Linked DNA regions of Homo sapiens: regions 1, 2, 3, 4 and 5 are each linked to region 6. Evidence: promoter capture Hi-C in 16 types of primary human blood cells and fetal thymus (Javierre and others, 2016). All regions are on one chromosome and are shown on one strand. The core of a region is centred on a gene start or on the middle of the fragment in contact, and the rest is flanking DNA. Distances in the headings are between cores, read along the strand shown.

Region 1 (2,996 bases), core at 415-2,914, 3.8 Mb after region 6:
CTGTGAGCATTATTACCTGTTTTTTTTTTTTTGGAGACAGGGATCTCATTCTGTGGCTCAGGCTGGAGTGCAGTGGCTCAATCTCAGCTCACTGCAACCTCCGCCTCTCAGGCTCAAGCCATCCTCCCATCTCAGACTCCAGAGTAGCTGGGACCACAGGCACAGCGCCACCACACCCGGCTAATCTTCTGTATTTTTGGTAGAGATGGGGTTTTTCCATGTTGCCCAGGCTGGTCTCTAATTCCCGACCTGAAGTGATCAGCCTGCCTCGGCCTCGCAGAGTGCTGGGATTACAGACCTGAGCCACCGCGCCCAGCCCATTGTTCACCGTTGTGACCCCTTTTAATTTTTATTTATTGCTTTATCATCTTACTGATTCCTCGAAACAATCTTACGGGGCGAGCCGGTTCCATGGGCGCTGAAGAAACATTTCCTCTTTCAAAGCCTCAATTGTTTGAACGATACGCGTTGCTAAAGAGGAAGCAATTAAACCTATCAGGCGAGTTCTGCCCTCCGCCCAGCGAGCTGCTGCTTCCTGGTGTTAAAACGCTTTCGGGGCCAGGCGCGGTGGCTCACGCCTGTAATCCCAGCACTTTGGGAGGCCGAGGCGGGCGGATCACGAGGTCAGAAGATCGAGACCATCCCGGCTAAAACGGTGAAACCCCGTCTCTACTAAAAAAATACAAAAAATTAGCCGGGCGTAGTGGCGGGCGCCTGTAGTCCCAGCTACTTGGGAGGCTGAGGCAGGAGAATGGCGTGAACCCGGGAGGCGGAGCTTGCAGTGAGCCGAGATTGCGCCACTGCACTCCAGCCTGGGCGACAGAGCGAGACTCCGTCTCAAAAAAAAAAAAAAAAAAAACGCTTTCGGGTTCTCCTGGCGAGTTTTAAGTCACACTGGATCGCTGCTTATTTTCAGAGATCACCTCGCACCCATGCACCTGGAAGGCACCCAAAGAGAATCATTTTAAGAAATTCACTTCATCTCACCCTAACAACAAAGCACAGCCTGCAGCACATGGATTTCACCCATGTGACATCAATGCTAATCCTATGTGTGAAACATCTGGGTTCATTCGATTTTTTAAAAATTAGTAACTGAGATGGGGTCTCGCTATGTTGTCCAGGCTGGTTCTCCAACGCCTGGGCTCAAGCCATTCTCCCGCCTCGGCCTCCCTCGGCGCTGAGATTATAGGCGGGAGCCACCGCGTCAGCCTCCACTCTTTTTGCGGCGACAAAGCCCGCCCGCCTGCGGGGCGTTCCGTTCGCAGAAACTCTGTGAGGGACGCCGCGGGGGCTTCCAAGGGACGCGGCGAAACCAAAACAGTCGCCGGTGGTTCACAAAACCACCTCAGAAAATGCTTCCAAAGGCACGTCTGGCCTCCACAAGGTGACGGCTTTTCAGCCTCCGACTCGAACTTGAGTCGTCCACAGCACTAGGCCGCCGCCAGCCCGGGCGAGCTGCCTAGGGACCGCGGACGCCGCAGCAAGCAGCTCCCTGCTCCCGCCACACCCGCCGAGCCAGCCGCGCGGAACCCACTCCCCCACCGTGGGCCCGCCTCCCGCCGCCAGCCTGCCCACGATTGGTCGACTGGGCTGCCCGTCGCGAGAGAAGGCGGTGCCTCCGGCAGGCCGGCGCTCCCATTGGCCGGGATGGCGGCGGCGGCGCGCGCGGCCCCGGCGAGCAGGGGAAGCCGGTGGCCGCGGCTGCGGAACGGGCGGAGGCTGCCGGTTTCGTAACCGTCGCTCCTCCTCGCTGACTCGCGGGCTGTGAGGCCTGGGTCGGCTCGGGCCGCACCGCGCGGGGCCGCTCGGAGTGGAGGCCGCCTGGGGGCAGGCGGGCTAGAGGAGCAGGTAAGGAGGCTGCGGCGGGCGCCCTGAGAACGGGGAGGAGGAGGCCGCGGCGACGCCGGCCGCTCGACTGGGTGCGGGCCCGGCTCGGGGAAACCCAGCCCCGGCCCCAGACGGCCCGCTGGCCCGGGAAGGCCACGCGAGGCTGGAGGCGCGGGCGGCGGCGCCGCGCGGCGTCTGATGCAACCTGCCGGCAACACCCGGCGGGGACGCTGAGCTCATTCCTGGCCGCGGCCCAGCGCTGCGGCGCCGCCCGTCGACCCCCGCGCTGCCCGGGGCGCCCCTCGCGGCGGGCCGGGAGCGCGCGAACGGCCGGGGAATGCCCCCTGCGGAGCCCGGCCCCCTCTCGGTGAAACGGGCGCTGTGACCCGCCAGGCTCGCATTGGCCCCTGGGGATGAAGGGTGTTCCCAGAATAGCAGAAGGTGGACCGAGTCGAGCTTTAGAATCCTGATCTTCTAGAAGGGCTCAGCTTGCGGTGATCGAAAATCTGTTCAGAAGTTCAAAGACTGATCAATAAAATAGGGAAAGCAACTGGTTTTTAAATGCATGACTTTGCAGAGATAATATTTTGCTTCTTTGTGGAGCTGTTGGAATGTCCTGCACTTTACTGTTGAACGTAGTTTAGAAGAACACGCAACACCTACGGGTCGAATAGAGAAGAAATGAAGCACTTCGCAGGCATAGTTGGAGGGAGCGGAGCAGGGCCGACAGCCAGCGGAGGTGACCAGATGCGAAGGATGGAAATGCATGTGTCGCGGGGGGAGGAGAGTGTTTTCCAGGGCAGCTGGTGTGTTGCTTCTCTTCCGCAGGTTTACGTGTTGGGTTTTCCTCTTGTTTGAAGTTTATACTGTAATCTGGCATCCTGAAATGTATAAGATTTAGAAAGGTCTCAATGTTGATGGGTGACACCAAAATTGGTAGTTGTGTCAGAATTGACTGCTTATATGAATAGGTTGTCACTTAAGGCAGACTTCTCCCAAAGAAATGTGACTCCCAGAGAAAATTTTAAAAGAAAATCCTATAAGGGCTTGCTTTACGAAGACATTCTACACCTAGAAGCTCTTGATATTTAAGATGTGGTCATCTGTTAGCCCTTGAGTAGTATTTGGGATAAGCTGTTCATAAGGTCGATTCTGCTTCTGGAAAA
Region 2 (2,918 bases), core at 268-2,767, 3.4 Mb after region 6:
AGATTCCAACTCAAAAAACAAAAAACAAAAACAAAAAAGAAATGTAAGCATTGGATTAAAGAAACTCGAACATTGATTTGTCTCACCCCACCCTTCCCTCCATCCCTTGGTATCATTTATTTAAAATCATTGGCCAGGTCAGGCACGAAGTGATAGCATTCTTAACCTGAAAAGCAATTTGGTTGCAAAATGACTTACTGTCTTTTTTCCTTTCAAGTCCAATAATCTTAAAGGAATTGTAGTCGTTGAAAAAACCCGGATGAGTGAACAATACTTCCCAGCCCTACAGAAGTTTACTGTGCTGGACCTTGGAATGGTGCTGCTTCCAGTGGCCAGCCAGATGGAAGCATCCTGCCTCGTCATCCAGTTGGTGAGTACCGATTCCTACACCTTCGTGGTAGTCCTGTCCTCATGGACACTCAGCTGCTCTCCAGAAGCAACCATCAATCCAATCTATGTCATTCTCTGACTTGGTTTATAAAATCTCTTCGAGGAATTTAAATGCGGAAGCTGCCTCTGCAGCCAGCTCAGCTTGTCACACACTCCAGGCAAGTGTATCACAAAGTATACAAGTTGGAGACCTGATTTTAGATTCTCAGGGTGTGATGGCTCCATCAGTCATTATCCTGCCCTTTCGCTGGTGAAAACGTCAACCTAGAGGCCAGGCGTGATGGCTCATGCTTGTAATCCCAGCACTTTGGGAGGCGGAGGCGGGAGGATCACTTGAGGCCAGCAGTTCGAGACCAGCCTGGCCAACATGGCAAAACCCTGTCTCTACTAAAAATACAAAAATTAGCTGGGCGTGGTGGTGGGTGCATGTAATCCCAGCTACTCCGGAGGCTGAGGCAGGAGAATCACCTGAACTGAGGAGGTGGAGGTTGCAGTGAGTGGAGATGCTCCATTGCACTCCAGCCTGAGCAACAGGAGCGAAACTTTGTCTCAAAAAAAGAAAGAAAGAAAGAAAATGTTAACTAGAAGCTGCTTTGTCTCATCCCGTATTTTTGTTAAGCATCAGCACCTTGTGCAAGTTTTTTTTTTTTCCCTTTTTTTTGAGGCGGAGTCTCGCTCTGTCCTACAGGCCAGAGTGCAGTGGTACAATCTTGGCTCACTGCCATCTCCACCTCCCGGGTTCAAGCCATTCTTCTGCCTCAGCCTCCCGAGTAGCTGGGACTACAGGCACGCACCACCACACCCGGCTAATTTTTGTATTTTTAGTAGACAGGGTTTCACCATATTGGCCAGGCTGGTCTCAAACTCCTGACCTCATGATCCGCCCACCTTGGCCTCCCAAAGTGCTGGGATTACAGGTGTGAGCCACCATGCCTGGGCAGTTTTTTTTTTTTTTTAGATAGGGTCTTGCTCTGTCATTCCAGCTGGAGTGCAGTGGTGCAATCTTGGCTTACTGCAACCTTTGCCTCCTGGGTTCAAGCGATTCTCCTGCCTCAGCCTCCCTAGTACCTGGGATTACAGGCACCCACCACCATGCCCGGCTAATTTTTGTATTTTTAGTAGAGATAAGAGTTTCACCATGTTGGCCAGGCTAGTCTCAAACTCCTGACCTCAGGTGATCTGCCTGCCTCAGCCTCCCAAAGTTCTGGGCCACCGCACCAACCAACACTTTTTTTTTTTTTTTTGAGATGGAGTTTCGCTCTTGTTGCTCAGGTTGGAGTGCAATGATGCAGTCTCGGCTCACTGCAACCTCCTCCTCCTGAGTTCAAGTGATTCTCCTGCCTCAGCCTCCCGAGTAGCTGGAATTACAGGTGCCCGCCACCACGCCCAGCTAATTTGTATTCTTAGTAAAGACGGGGTTTCTCCATGTTGGTCAGGCTGGTCTCGAACTCCCGACCTCAGGTGTTGTGCCCGCCTCAGCCTCCCAAAGTGCTGGGATTACAGTCGTGAGCCATCGCGCCCGGCCGCCAACACTTATTTTTAAAATCAGTTTAGTAGCTTACGCCTCTGATCCCAGCATGGGGAACATCAATTGTGTGTGTGTGTTGTTTGTTTTTTTCACTTTTGTTTTCTTTGTTATGTGTGTGTTGTTTTTAAATCACCCCCTCTGATGTGGAGCTAGAGTTGAGAGCCACATTGAAGATGCAAGCAGCCATGAATGGTTCACAGATCCCTCTCTACTATATCCCTTGCGTCACCGTTCCTAACTTTCCTTGATATAACACTGTTGTCTGCCTTAGTATAACCACCACTAACTAGACCAGGTTTCTCCTTTGAGGCAGGCTTCCTGCAGCTCCTGCGTGAAGTAGGCCTAGTTTAGGTGTAGCCATCATTTAATCCTGCACAACTGAAATGTTTCTTAATGGACCAACAGAAAGTGTTTGAATTCATCTGTGTGTTTTTCTAAACATTCTGAAAACGCACATTTTTGTAAATTAATGTCTTAACTCCTTTGTGTGGTTCACCTTTCAATAATTTTACTGATGTCTGAGAAATTATATTCATGATACATGAAAACATTTGTTCCCTTAAGTCAAGCTGAGCCAAATGGAAAAACGCAATTTCTACAAAACATATTTTAAGAAAACGGCCAGTCCTCCAGAGGGCGCTCACGTGCTGTTGCTTTCATTGTGGTTCAGGTTCAAGAGCAAACCAAAGAGCCCAGTAAGAACCCTCTTCTCGGGAAGAAACGGGCCCTGCTGCTGTCTGAGCCTTCGCTCCTTCGAACCGTGCAGCAGATCCCAGGAGTTGGAAAAGTTAAAGCTCCCCTTCTCCTCCAGAAGTTTCCAAGCATCCAGCAACTGAGTAATGCTTCCATTGGGGAACTGGAGCAGGTGGTCGGACAAGCAGTGGCACAGCAGATCCATGCCTTCTTCACGCAGCCCAGGTGAGGGCTGGCCTCAGGGCCACGGCATCTTCTCCTGAGACCACAAACACCAGGATCTTGTTTTCAGCTTTAAAAACCAAGA
Region 3 (2,802 bases), core at 204-2,703, 3.1 Mb after region 6:
CCCAGCCTACTGCTCACCCAGTTAAAGGACGGACCCCTGGGTGACAGCAGGCCCCGGGGCTCAGTACACCGGACCCTTAGGCCACCTCAACACCAGTCCTCATGCCAGGCTGATCTCGAAACGTAACAGCTACTGCTCAGCAAAACGTGGTGGCTAGTGCCTGTAATCCCAACACCTTGGGAGGCCAAGACGAGAGCATGGCTTGAGTCCAGGAGTTCAAGACCAGCCTAGGCAACCTGCTAGACTCCATCTCTACAAAAAAAAAAAAAAAAAATTAAAAATTAGCCGTGCATAGTGGCATGCGCCTGTAGTCCCAGCTACTACAGAGGCTGAGGTGAAAGGATTGCTTGAGTCCAGGAGTTTGAGGCTGCAATGAGCTATGATGGCATCACTGCACTCCAGACTAGCCAACAGAGCCAGACCCTGTCTCAAAAAGAAAAAAACGAAAAGAAAGAAAAGAAAAAAAATATCCACTGCTCTACTCTTCGGCCAGTGGGAAGAGTGCATTTTTTAATCAAAATAGGGGCCTCTATCCATGAAACCCATCAACTTGTAAAATCTGAGCTCTCTGCAGCCTCACAGTCCCTCCAGCACTGCCAGCAGCCCTCGTTCCCTGCATGCTCTAAATCCTCAGCGAAGACCCGTCCCTTGCTCCCTCGCCCAGCACAGGCCGCGAGTGCCCACGTCCCCTGCACCTCGTGGGGCAGCCAAGGGGGCACCGCGTGGCTCGTGTGCTCCTGGGCAGTCCATTTTCAACCACAAGACGGAACAGACTCAGAATCCGGAACATCTCTCGGTGCTTAAGAGTTTTCCTTTAACAATCTTTACCTGTGGGAATGCAGAGACCCCCCCGCCCTGCGAGAGGCCGGCAGCCAGGGATTCCCCGCTCCGCGCCCTCATCACCCCCCGGAAACCACAACCGCTGCGCGCGCGGCTCGGACCCCCACCCGCCGCTCCCCTCCAGCAGACCCTAGGCCTCCGGGAAACCGCGCGGCGACCGCCCCGCGCCCCGCCAGATCCGAACCGCCGGACCCGGCACCCCGGCCACACCCGCCGGTGTCGACGCAGCGAGGCTCGGAGGGTGCATTCTCCGCGCCGACCGCTCCCCTCCTCCAGACCCGAGGGGCGGAGTGGGCAGGGCGCGCCGGCTGCGCACCGGGCACCCACCTGGGGACGCGGGGGCTGGGGCGGCGCGGGGCCACCTGGCGGACCCGGGAGCGGACTCCGGAGAGCAGGGAGCCCCTCCCCCCTCACTCTCCGGGCCCCGCCCGGCCGCCGCGCCCCGAGGCGCAGCCATCCCGCGGGAGGGGAGGCGCAGGAGGAGGCCAGCGCGAGGACACTTACTTAAAAGGCTACATCGCTTCATTCCCAGCCCATCCTGGGCGACGGCGGCACCTCCCTCGTCCGCTGCTGGGACCTCGATGCCCACCACCCTCGCGCGGCGATCTGGCCCTATAGCCCACCCCTTACTCCGCCGTGGGGCGGAGCCGCGCCACAGCTGACCCAATGAGAAACCGTCGTTTCCCAGAGTGACGTGTACGCAGAGCAATCATGGAGTCCAGCCCAGCCGGGGGCGGGGCTCAGGCGGCTCCCTACGCTTCCTACTCCAGCTGGCCCCGCCCCACGCCCGCAACTGCGCGTGCCCAGAACGTGAGGGGCGGGGCTGGGAGCCGGGCTGACACTAGAGGTGGGGTTAGCGCTTGGAAGCACCGACCAACGTGAGCGCAACGCGGCAGGGACACCTGACCCCGGCGGCGCCCAGCCCCTCGGATTGCCAGTCACTGCTCGCTTTGGGGCACGGAGGTGCCCAGTCCTGCGGGGCACCCGACGTCCTGTCGCCGACAGGGTCCGGGAGTCAGTATAGCTGGGTTCTAGTCCCATCACAGGCAAAAACTCCGCGGGAGCCTGGCCCGCTTTTTACCTGGGCCTCAGTTTCCCCATCCGTAAAATAGAACGGGTTGGATCTCCCGAGCGCTAACATTCCAGAACTCGGATGGGGCGAAGGGGAGGGAGGGATGGGCCACCCACACGTGACCTCCCCGCGTGGAGCCCCGCCTACCACTGATCCAGGGGGTGGCAGCTCCGGCCGGGACGAGCGGGGTGGGCGGGTCCTAGGAAACCCTACCCGGCCGCCCTTGGCAGCGCCTAAGGCGGAGCGCGCGGCTCTGCAGCCTGCTTGCCCCGGAGTTGGCACCCACGGAGGATGGGGACCGCACCCTCAGCTTCGCAGGGAGCCACCGTGGAGGCCAGGGCGGTGCAGAGACACGACGTGTGACTCGGAGTGCGCCTGGGGAGGATGGACGAGGGAGCGGGGGACCGCTAACGGGGCTCCCTCTGCGCGCCCCGTCCGCAGAGGCGCACGTCGAGGGTCCCGGGCGGGCTCCGTGGACGTTGGCGGTAGCGCCGAGCGAGTCACGGACCATGAAGAGCGTTCGTGCCGCGCGGCCCAAGGCCGGGATGGGGGTTAGCCACATCCTGCCGCGCTGAGGGGGAGGCTAACGGGCGCGGGCGGCCGGGCCCAGCCGGAGCCCACCGCGATGGCGAGGGAGGAGTGCAAGGCGCTGCTGGACGGGCTCAACAAGACGACTGCGTGCTACCACCACCTGGTGCTGACCGTCGGTGGCTCGGCGGACTCGCAGAACCTGCGGCAGGAGCTGCAAAAGACGCGCCAGAAGGCGCAGGAGCTGGCGGTGTCCACCTGCGCCCGGCTGACTGCTGTGCTGCGCGACCGGGGCCTGGCCGCCGACGAGCGCGCCGAGTTCGAGCGGCTCTGGGTGGCCTTCTCGGGCTGCCTGGACCTGC
Region 4 (2,947 bases), core at 153-2,652, 3.6 Mb after region 6:
TGTAATCCCAGCACTCTGGGCTGCCAAGGTGGGTGGATCACTTGAGGCCAGGAGTTCAAGACCAGCCTGGCCAACATGGAGAAACCCCATCTCTACTAAAAATACAAAAATTAGCAGGATGTGGTGGTGCACGCCTGTAATCCCAGCTACTCGGGTGGCTGAGGCAGGAGAATTGCTTGAACCTGGGAGGCGGAGGTTGCAGTAAGCCTAGATGGTGCCACTGCACTCCAGCCTGGGCAACAAAGTGAGACTCTGTCTCAAAAACAAAAACAAAAACAAACAAACAAACCAAAAAGAGATTCCAGAGAGGGGAACCCTTGCCTTGCCCCAGCTCAAGGTAGCTGGGAGAATTCTAATGGCATGCCTGGATCACCTCTGACCAGCACCTCCTTTCTGCTCTTTTAAAATATCCCATGTCAGTGCGAAAGATGTGACAGGCCTTTCTCCATCTTCAAGAGTGACACCTCTTCTGAAATGTTCACCCAATGCGTGTTCTGCCGGATAGATACAAGGGGCTTGCCAGCAGATACTTCATCGTCATCATCATCATCGGAAAGGGAGAACTCACCGCCGCCAAGGGGAAGCAAGGATGACTGACAGCCACAGGCCCCTTTGAGTGACTCCAGCACAGGCTACCTAGCATGTAGGTTTCGGGGCTTTGCAGGGGCTTTCTCTTGGGCCCCTCCCAGGCTCAGCAGGCCTGTCAGACTGGGGCAGGACCCAAGCCCTGGCTGGACTCAGCACAGTGCCACCTCCTCAGCTCTCAGCTTGGGGAGTGAACACTTTCCGTTTTCATGCAGAATAAATCTAATTCCTTTGGAAAACAAGCGTGCATGTGCATCTGAAAAGCAGTCTTGCTATTTCTAAGCTTTATGTCTTGGTGCTCATCCTGTTTGATTCTTGGAACACATATTAGACTCACATTGTGGAGTCTGGAGTTGCCCTGTAAGGTGACCTGTGGGGGCTGGCACCAGCAGTTCTGGAGAGTTTGTCAAATGAGTATGACAAGGTGTGGGGCCCCCTCTGTGGACGTGATGGCAAGACACAATGAGTGCCTCCCTGGCTAATGCTCCCAGATGGCCACTTGCCCGGAGCAGAGGACGGTTTGGTTAGGCAAGGGGGTGGCGGTGGCATTGCCATCACGGGATGTCTCACGCTTTCTCCTCTAGACGTCTTAATTTCCAGAACCCCTTGCTTATGTGCAGCCCTCTTCCTGCTGCCACGGCATTTTGCACAGCGTGCATCAATCCAGAAATAGGCTGAGATAGGAGCTTAGTTTCCTATTGCACACCATGCTGGGTGAACCTTTCTGTGCATGCTGCAGGGATGCTGGGTGGATGGGTTGGCAGTGTTCGGCTTCGTAGTTGCCCACAGGCCCTCTGGAAAGTGCGGAGACCAGTGGCTGGTGTAGTTGCGTGAGGACACCCAGAAGGGGTCAGTGAGAAACTAGGGAGGGGAGGGCCTTGCCTGCTCTGGCAGCAGAAACCCCTCCATGTAAGGTGTTGGTGCTCCACGCCAGCAGCCTGGGAACCCTGAAGTCCACGATCCCTCCTGAGCCTTCCGGACCCCTCGACTTTCCCCCAGCTCAGGATCCGCGGAAGTAGCGACTCAACTGAAGTTATAGTCCCGGGAGCTGGCAGGGCCCCGGGTCTTCTCAGGCTGAGGTCGCGGGGCAGAATGGTCCGAAGCTCACCGGGGTCACAGTCGGACCGAGGCGGGTGTGCGCCTCGACCGGACGCCAGGGGAGCCAGCAGCCCGGCCGCGCTGGCGGGGCCGGGGGTTCTCCGGAGTGGGTAGGGGCTCGACCGCACTGCCCTGAGTCCCAAGCCCTGCACCAGCGTTCCCCAAAGGCGGAGCGTCCTGGCTCCACGTTGGAAGAGACATTACCGTGACCAGGAAGTCTGGCCTTCCCAGGCTCCGCCCGCTCCGTGCAGCCCAAGCTTCCGGTCTCAGTCTCAGCTGCCTGTGTGAATCGGAAGCTACACTACGCGTGCGCCACAACAGGCCGAATGTGTGCGCATGCGCGCGGCCCATATGGTAAATAGTAATGAAGAATAGTTTAGGAAAGTACCTGTACGGGTGGCGCCGTGGCTTAGTTGGTTAAAGCGCCTGTCTAGTAAACAGGAGATCCTGGGTTCGAATCCCAGCGGTGCCTCAACCGAGCGTCCAAGCTCTTTCCATTTTTGCTCCTGCACTTTTGTGCTCTGTACCCGGCTGCCCGATACTATGAGGGTGTGAGCGGGATCCCGAGAGGCCTAGGTAGACGGGCCCCCCAACGGGGCGTGGCCTCGGCCACGGGGGCGGGTGCAGGCGGGCTTCGGACTCCACCTTCTCGGGTCTCAGGCTCTGTGGGGCGTAGGCGGCGCGGGGACCCAGGCGACCGCGGTTGCCATGGTGCTGGCTGGCCGTGGGAGGCGAGCGGCGGGCTGGGAAGCAGCTGTGCGAGTCCAGCGAGGAGCCGGTGTTCGCCCCGAGGCTGCTTCCTCAGGGCGGGCGGTGGACGCGCTCTCCCACGCCGCCTTCTGTGGCGTGGGTTCCTCGCGCTAGTCTTCCTGGCTCCAAGCTGCCACTTGGGGGAGCCCACGCGGGTGCCGATCCTCGACGTTCGCCGGGCTTAGCTGAGCCTCGCAAAGGCCTGAAGATTGCCCGTCTCCCTGCAGCCGCGCAGTGGGTGCAGCCTTTTCACAAATGCAAGACCTGGACCGGCGGCGAGGCCAAGGGGACCCCGTGTGGAGGGATGCGGGACTGAGTCCGGTTAGCGTGATCCTCAGTCCGATGACTGCGTGGAAACTCCAGGCCAGGCAGGGGACTCTGCCCCAGCTGCAGACGGCCGGGTGTGGGCTGAAGCCAGCTGCCTGGGCTGGGGTTGGTTGCTCAGCGCTGGGGTTCTACCCACATTTGTATGTGGGAACCTATTCCTGAGCAAGTGCATTCGAGGCTTTGGGGG
Region 5 (3,259 bases), core at 440-2,939, 4.6 Mb after region 6:
TACTAGGCCCCTGATGATACGGCAGCAACCAAAACAACATCACTATCTCAAAATGTTTACATTCTAGTGAAGGAGACAGATACATACAAATAATTAAACAGACATACTTGAGAGAGATACATGCTATAAAGAAAATACAAGCTGAGTTAAGGAGATGAGTGGTATTATTTTAAACAAGGCTGTCAGGGACGTCATCTCTGGAGGTGATGCTTGAGCAGAGACTGGAATAAAGTGCTCAAGTACTGGTTGAATTAGACGCGACTGGAACAGAACGAGAAGCTAAATCATGTATATCCTTAGACACCAAAGTCTGGTTTTCTCTCTGTGTAACATGGGATCAGTAGAGTGAGTAGAGGAAGGACATGATCTGAGTTAGATTTTTTTTTTTTTTTTTGAGACGGAGTCTCGCTCTGTCGCCCAGGCTGGAGTGCAGTGGCACAATCTCGGCTCACCACAACCTCCGCCTCCTGGGTTCAAGCAATTCTCCTGCCTCAGCCTCCCAAGTAGCTGAGACTATAGGCGCGCGCCACCACGCCTGGCTAATTTTTTTATATTTTTAGTAGAGACGGGGTTTCACCATGTTGGCCAGGCTGGTCTCGAACTCCTGACCGGTGATGCGCCCGCCTCGGGCCCCCAAAGTACTGGGAGTACAGGCGTGAGCCACTGCGCCCAGCCCTGAGTTAGATTTTAAGAAGATCTCTCTGGCTGCTGTATTGAGAATAAAGTACTGGGGGCAAGAGTTGACACAGAGGCAACTTTTAGAAGGCTACTGCAATAATTCAGCCCGAGTAATCGTGGCTTGTGGGAGAAGTGTAGGAATGGAGATGAGAAGTCAGATTTAGGATATATTGTGTATACATAACGGAGAGGTGTAGTCAGAACAGATGTGGAAGCAAGACAGGGCAAGGCTGACTCACGGCTTTTAGTCTGAGCAGCTGAGTAAAAATGGTACCGTTTACATCAAATAGGGAACGGTGGTGAAGGAGCAGGTTAGAGGGGAAACAGGGAGCATGGCTTTGGACCCTTAACGTTTGAGATTCGACAGAAACCCTGGTTCACGGAATTGATCCAAGCTACATACTGATAATTGGGATTAGTGAGTTACAATGGCGTTGCAAGCCATGAAACTGGTTCAGACCGGCTGAATGAGCGGGACAGGAAGGGGCTGAAACACTTGAGTCCTTGTGAGAGCCCCAGCTCCAGGGGCAGCCTCGGGGGAAGCTCCCCGGGCGATGACTGCGGTAATGGAGCCGTAGGAGCTCCACGAGGTGCAGGTTCAGCGTCTTAGAAGGATGAGCAGCGGCTCGCCACAGCTCGGAGGCGGGTGGGCAGCGCTCCAGGCCGAGGGCCCCGCGTCGGCAAAGACACAGGACCCACGACAAGGCGGCCACGGCCTGAGTCAAAAGGAAGGCCGCGCGCCTCCTCTCCAGCCCGCAGCAAGCGGGTGCCACGAGGCACTCAGCCGGTCCCCGAAGTTCCTCTCACGCGGCCCCAAGACCACCACCGTAGTCCAGGCCAACAAGCGCTGCCGGGACTCCCGAGGCCACGAATGAGCCGGGAGCCACCAGTAGCCGGCCAAGTCTCGCGAGAGCGCGGCCTCGCCCTCCCAGCATGCCCCGCGCCGCCGCCGCTGCCGCCGCCGCCGCCGCCGCCGCGCCGCGGCTTGAGGGCGGGAGGCTGGGGGAGGGTAGCGGAGCCGGCGCCGCCGCCATGTTGGGTCTGAAGCGGCTGCTGTAGGCGCCGACGGAGCGAGCGGGCGTGCGGAGCGGGCGACAGTGGCGTGGGATCTGCCTCTCTGCGAGCAGCTGGGAGCGGCGGCGGCGGCGCCATGAGCGGGGGCACCCCTTACATCGGCAGCAAGATCAGCCTCATCTCCAAGGCGGAGATCCGCTACGAGGGCATCCTCTACACCATCGACACCGAAAACTCCACCGTAGCCCTTGCCAAAGGTACGCGGGACCGGGCCTCAGGGTGGGGGCCGAGCCGGGCGCCGCTCGGGGCTGCTCCCCGCTCCGGCCCGCGGCCTCCTCGTTCCCTCCCCTCCCTCCGTCGAGCTCCGGGAGGCCTCTCGCCTCCCTTCTCCGGGCCCCGGCGTCGCGGGCCGGACCGCGGCCTCCCCGCGGCTCCCTGGTTTCCGCCCCCCGGAATGTCCGCGCCTGAAGCCCGGGGAACTACGGGACTGAGTGCGCGGCGGGCGGCCCTGAAGTCCGAGAACGGGCCGGAGAACACGGAGAAACGCGTCTTCCAACTCCGAAATTCGGGGCTTCTGCCGTCTTAGCACAAAACAAAGCCGGAGTATTCAAAGAATTTTTCCGCCCAGCTTGAGTTCATCGCGGATGCGTTGACTACACAGCACCCATTTTCTCACTTTGTTCATTTCAATTCGTGGCGATCTTCCTCTGGTGAACTCTTGAGTAATGTGCTAAAACTTTGGGTTTGCTCTGCGACGCAGACATTCTCGAAATGCCATCGATGCCGTGGAGCAGATCCCATCTCCCTCGGCTCATCCTCTGTTGGTATTTACCTGTTAAACCGGAATCCTCAAAGCCTGTTGTGCAACCACCTCATTAGGGCGCGTGGTAAAAATGCTTGCTGCTGCCCCGACGCCCCTGTTTCTGGAAACGGGTTCAAGCTTGATCCAGGATCCTTCTTGACCAGGCAAGCTTGACCTTTGATCCAGGCTCAGTGGGCGTTGACTGATCCCTCTGGAGGCTCTCTGGGAAAGGGAATTCGGCCGAGAAGGAAGGTGCCCCTACCCACAGTGTTAATATTTGGCATCCCTAGAGTCTGTGTGGGTTTTGTTTCCGTTCACACGTGCAGGGCCTTTGCTCCGCCAGGAAACCAGAAAGAAAATAAACTTTAGCTCCTGAATCTTAAAGGAAATCTCACAACAGTGTAAAATACTTTGAGGGAAGCTAGATAACCTAGGTGATTTTCCCAGCACTTCTGGTAGAGGTGGGAACTGCATAGCATGGTTAGGGACCCTGTGGATAGGTTAGGTCCAAGGATAAAGAAGAAGATTTTCGAAATCTGTAAAATTTTAAAAATCGTTAACAGATAGGGGAGTGGTTTCACGGGATCAAGTATTTAATAATATTTCTTGGATGCTCTGGTAAATCCTTTATTTATTTATTTATTTATTTATTTTTCTAAGATGGAGTTTAGCTCTTTTTGCTCAGGCTGGAGTGCAAAGGCAATGATTTCGGCTCACTGCAACGTCCGCCTCCCGGGTTCAAGTGATTCTCCTGCCTCAGCCTCC
Region 6 (3,148 bases), core at 323-2,822:
TTCTCATCACAAAATGAGTGTATTAGCATCGCTCATAGCTCATTTAGCCATTACACAATGTATACACATTTCAAACCATATTGTATACCATAAATACATACAATTCTTATTGGTTAATTTTAAAAATAATAAAAGTTCTCTATCAGTCCCATAAATTACAATTTTCAGGCATCTGCAAAGGCAGCATGTTTTGGTTTAAATGTGGTCTTTCCAAATTTTATACGTATAAAATAAATGCATAAGTGTACTACATATGCAAAAACTAATACATAAATTTTATAAAGTCAATGCACGCGGGGTCACTGGGATGAACCAATTTCAGTGCCTGCAGTCTAATGTTTAAAATCAAAATGGTACAAGGTCACCACCAAAGAAATTGTTTAAGCCAATGTTTCTCAAACTAAAACCTTTGGACATACTCCCAGAATCCCCTGTAAAGAAATGTATACTGTACTCAAAGTTGAGAACCACTGACTTAGCATAAAGGGACCGTATTTCTTTTCTCTCCCACCCAGCACAGGCCCAGTGCTCAGCAGAAATTGGGGCTCCACAGTTCTGCCCAACACTGGGTCACTGCTGAGAAGTCTGCACCAGGCCTTCCTGCACCTTTCCACTGAGCAATGGAGTTTGTTTATTCATTTATTTATTTATATGGAATTTATTTATTTATTTTGGAGACAGGGTCTCACTCTGTCACCCAGGCTGGAGTGCAGTAGCGCAATCCAGGTTCACTGCAGCCCTAAACTCCTTGGGCTCAACTGATCCTCCCACCTCAGATACCCGAGTAGTTGGGACTACAAGCACGCACCACCACGCCTGGATAATTTTTTTTAAATGTTTTGTAGAGATGGGGTCTCCCGATGTTGCCCAGGCTGGTCTCGAACTCCTGGGCTCAAGAGATCCTCCCGCCTGCGCCTCCCACGGTGTGAGCCACCTTTGATCTTATTGCTATGATTTTTTTATTGATAAAAACTAATAAATATTCTGAGTCTCAAGAAAGCTTTCTGAAACTATCAAAGGGACCCAGGCGGCGCATCACTACCTGTGAGGCCGACCCCACTCACAGCACAGACTGCAAGTGAGGCTTACAGATGGGAAGTGCCCTAAGCGAGGTTAAACAGCTAGTTAGCAGCAGACACGGAACTAGAACCTAAGCCTGCTGTCCCAGCTTCGGTGCCCGTGCTCACAGCGGAAGCTGCCTCGGCTCATCCGTAAGGGCGCTGATTAGGGACGACAAAGACCTCACCCCACCGTCCCCGTCCCATTTCCGCCCTCCCAGATCCCCAACCTCCTTCGAGTCCTCTCCAAGTCGCCTCGCCTCGCTCCACTCCAGGCCTTAGCAAGCATTCCACATGCCTTTACCCCAACCCTACTGCCTGTCCCCCAAAAGATGCAGGCGGAAAAGACCCCAGGAAGCGAGCCCACTCCTCCCCACTGCTCAGCAACACCGCCTACGACGTTCTCAGTAGCCGAATCCCTTTCCAGGCGCATGCGCCCCCGAGGTGGGCGAGCGCCGGTGATGTCACGCATAGCGCCATCTCCGAGCTCCGAGAGTCTGCGACAGCAGCTGCCAGTGCGTCATCAGAGAGCGCCGGAAGCGGTCCGAGAATGAAGAGTAAGCGGGGCCGCGAAGTTGGAGAGGGTTGGGGACGTTAAGGGTCGGGGTCTTGGTACTGGTGGGTGAAATGGGTCCGGGCTACCTGTTGCTGCGGAGTCCTAACAGAACCGCTACAGGAATGGGCCCACCCTACCTAAGAAAAACTGAGGGCTGGAGCACGGGTTAGCCTGGCTCGACCTCTGAGCTAGGGAGGGATGTCAGGGCTGGAGGCAGGTTCTCCCGGAGGCTGCTCAGTGGTGTGCGATGCTAGAGGAGGGTTCCAGGCCTTGGCTCAACTTGGCCACTATCTCCCGGGGTGACCGCGGTCAAGATCCTGCTCCTTTCTGCGAGCTGGTTTCACACTCTTAACCTGATGCAAAGCGCCGAGAGCTGCTGGGGAATGATATCACTAACCCAAAGCTTTGGTCCTTAGGGGTAGAAGACATGTGCCAAGGAGGGGCGTGTAGACACCGTTAAGACTGGGCCTTCAATCAGAATTTTTATTTTTCATCTCTGCCACTTTCTACCTATATGATCAAGTAGATTGTCTCGGCATGTCTGAGCTTCAGTTTGCTCATGCACATAAGTGTAATGAGAAAAAATATGTGTACCTTGTAATGAGGTTTCTGGCAAGTAATGGATGTTCAGTAATTGTTAGATGTGTATTGTTGCAGAAAGACTTCCAAGTCTGTTACTAAGCACCTGTAACAGATGAAGCAAAGTTATCAGGCCCCGCAAGTTGCTCTCTACAGTTTATAATCCCCATCTTCCATTTGAGGGAGAACTAGATGCTATATATAAAACTTGCAACCACATTGGTTTGCTTGATCAAACAAACATACCTGGCTGGGTGTGGTGGGACACGCCTGTGGTCCCAGCACTTTGGGAGGCTGAGGCAGGGGGATCACTTGAGGCCAAGAGTTGAAGACCAACTTGGGCAACAACATAGCGAGACCCTGTCTCTACAAAAACTGGAAAAAAAAAAAAAGAATTAGCCAGGTGTGGTGGCACACACCTGTAGTCTCAGCTACTCAGGAGACTGAGGTGGGAGGATCACTTGAAACCAGGAGGTCGAAGTTGCAGTGAGCTATGATTGTGCCACTGCACTCCAGCCAGGGCAACAGAGCAAAACCCAGTATCAAAACAAACAAACAAACAACAAAAAAAAAAAACTTGTAACCACCTTGCATCAAACATTCTCAGGGAAGTACAAGAAAGCTGGAATTAAATTTACAGAGTATAGTGTAAATTACATTTTCTAGCTATTTAGCTCATAAACCAGGCCTTAGTAGTCCCATTCTTATTCCATTCACACCTGTACTCTGTCCCCAGTGCCATGGTTTTCTTCTTTCAAAAAATTAAGAAACAGAAGTGTGGAATTTATTTTAGAGGTTGAAACTTTATTGACCAATGTATATTTTGAGTTTAAAGGAAAAACTTGTATTTTATCAGTTCAGGACACCATCGATTATGTGACACATTATAATTTCATATTAAAATGTGAAGAATCTTTTTAAACATCTTACAGTTAACAAAACCTATTTCTAACCA

The links. Contacts are between HindIII fragments. The CHiCAGO score rates a contact against its expected background, and 5 or more counts as called.
Region 1: a contact is called between the fragment with the promoter of CEBPG here and the fragment with the promoter of POP4 in region 6, in 1 of 17 cell types (non-activated CD4 T cells). The highest score is 6.0, in non-activated CD4 T cells.
Region 2: a contact is called between a fragment that was not itself captured here and the fragment with the promoter of POP4 in region 6, in 1 of 17 cell types (fetal thymus). The highest score is 6.3, in fetal thymus.
Region 3: the fragment with the promoter of ANKRD27 here is called in contact with the fragment with the promoter of POP4 in region 6 in 1 of 17 cell types (total B cells); the score reaches 7.7 in total B cells.
Region 4: a fragment that was not itself captured here is called in contact with the fragment with the promoter of POP4 in region 6 in 3 of 17 cell types (naive CD8 T cells, fetal thymus and naive CD4 T cells); the score reaches 6.6 in naive CD8 T cells.
Region 5: a contact is called between the fragment with the promoter of LSM14A here and the fragment with the promoter of POP4 in region 6, in 2 of 17 cell types (fetal thymus and monocytes). The highest score is 5.8, in fetal thymus.

What each region holds. Positions count from the first base shown.
Region 1 is chr19:33,372,045-33,375,040 of GRCh38, forward strand. It overlaps CEBPG (CCAAT enhancer binding protein gamma), which reads left to right and starts at 1,665. Exons shown (of 2, transcript NM_001806.4): 1 at 1,665-1,851. RefSeq lists a silencer at 1,452-2,261. The HindIII fragment of the contact is 8,186 bases long and covers 1-2,996 here.
Region 2 is chr19:32,973,843-32,976,760 of GRCh38, forward strand. FAAP24 (FA core complex associated protein 24) reads left to right here. Exons shown (of 5, transcript NM_152266.5): 4 at 218-370; 5 at 2,589-2,918. The coding sequence ends at 2,840. Among named protein-coding and RNA genes, the nearest start is that of FAAP24, 3.1 kb to the left of the region's middle. The HindIII fragment of the contact is 3,940 bases long and covers 1-2,918 here.
Region 3 is chr19:32,673,727-32,676,528 of GRCh38, forward strand. It overlaps ANKRD27 (ankyrin repeat domain 27), which reads right to left and starts at 1,454. Exons shown (of 29, transcript NM_032139.3): 1 at 1,345-1,454. RGS9BP (regulator of G protein signaling 9 binding protein) reads left to right here and starts at 2,122. Exons shown (of 1, transcript NM_207391.3): 1 at 2,122-2,802. The coding sequence starts at 2,538. RefSeq lists silencers at 939-988, 1,009-1,738, 2,309-2,368 and enhancers at 1,382-2,001, 1,889-1,998, 2,769-2,802. The HindIII fragment of the contact is 4,511 bases long and covers 1-2,802 here.
Region 4 is chr19:33,174,976-33,177,922 of GRCh38, forward strand. WDR88 (WD repeat domain 88) reads left to right here. Exons shown (of 11, transcript NM_173479.4): 11 at 421-824. The coding sequence ends at 597. It overlaps TRT-AGT1-3 (tRNA-Thr (anticodon AGT) 1-3), which reads left to right and starts at 2,082; the gene lies at 2,082-2,155. It overlaps LOC124904691 (a long non-coding RNA gene), which reads right to left and starts at 1,903. Exons shown (of 2, transcript XR_007067228.1): 1 at 1-1,903. RefSeq lists enhancers at 975-1,739, 1,452-1,521, 2,612-2,671, 2,682-2,801 and silencers at 1,722-1,881, 2,082-2,441. The HindIII fragment of the contact is 1,072 bases long and covers 867-1,938 here.
Region 5 is chr19:34,170,815-34,174,073 of GRCh38, forward strand. It overlaps LSM14A (LSM14A mRNA processing body assembly factor), which reads left to right and starts at 1,690. Exons shown (of 10, transcript NM_015578.4): 1 at 1,690-1,949. The coding sequence starts at 1,829. The HindIII fragment of the contact is 4,496 bases long and covers 1-2,630 here.
Region 6 is chr19:29,604,711-29,607,858 of GRCh38, forward strand. POP4 (POP4 ribonuclease P/MRP subunit) reads left to right here and starts at 1,573. Exons shown (of 7, transcript NM_006627.3): 1 at 1,573-1,615. The coding sequence starts at 1,609. RefSeq lists an enhancer at 1,226-1,715. The HindIII fragment of the contact is 1,017 bases long and covers 999-2,015 here.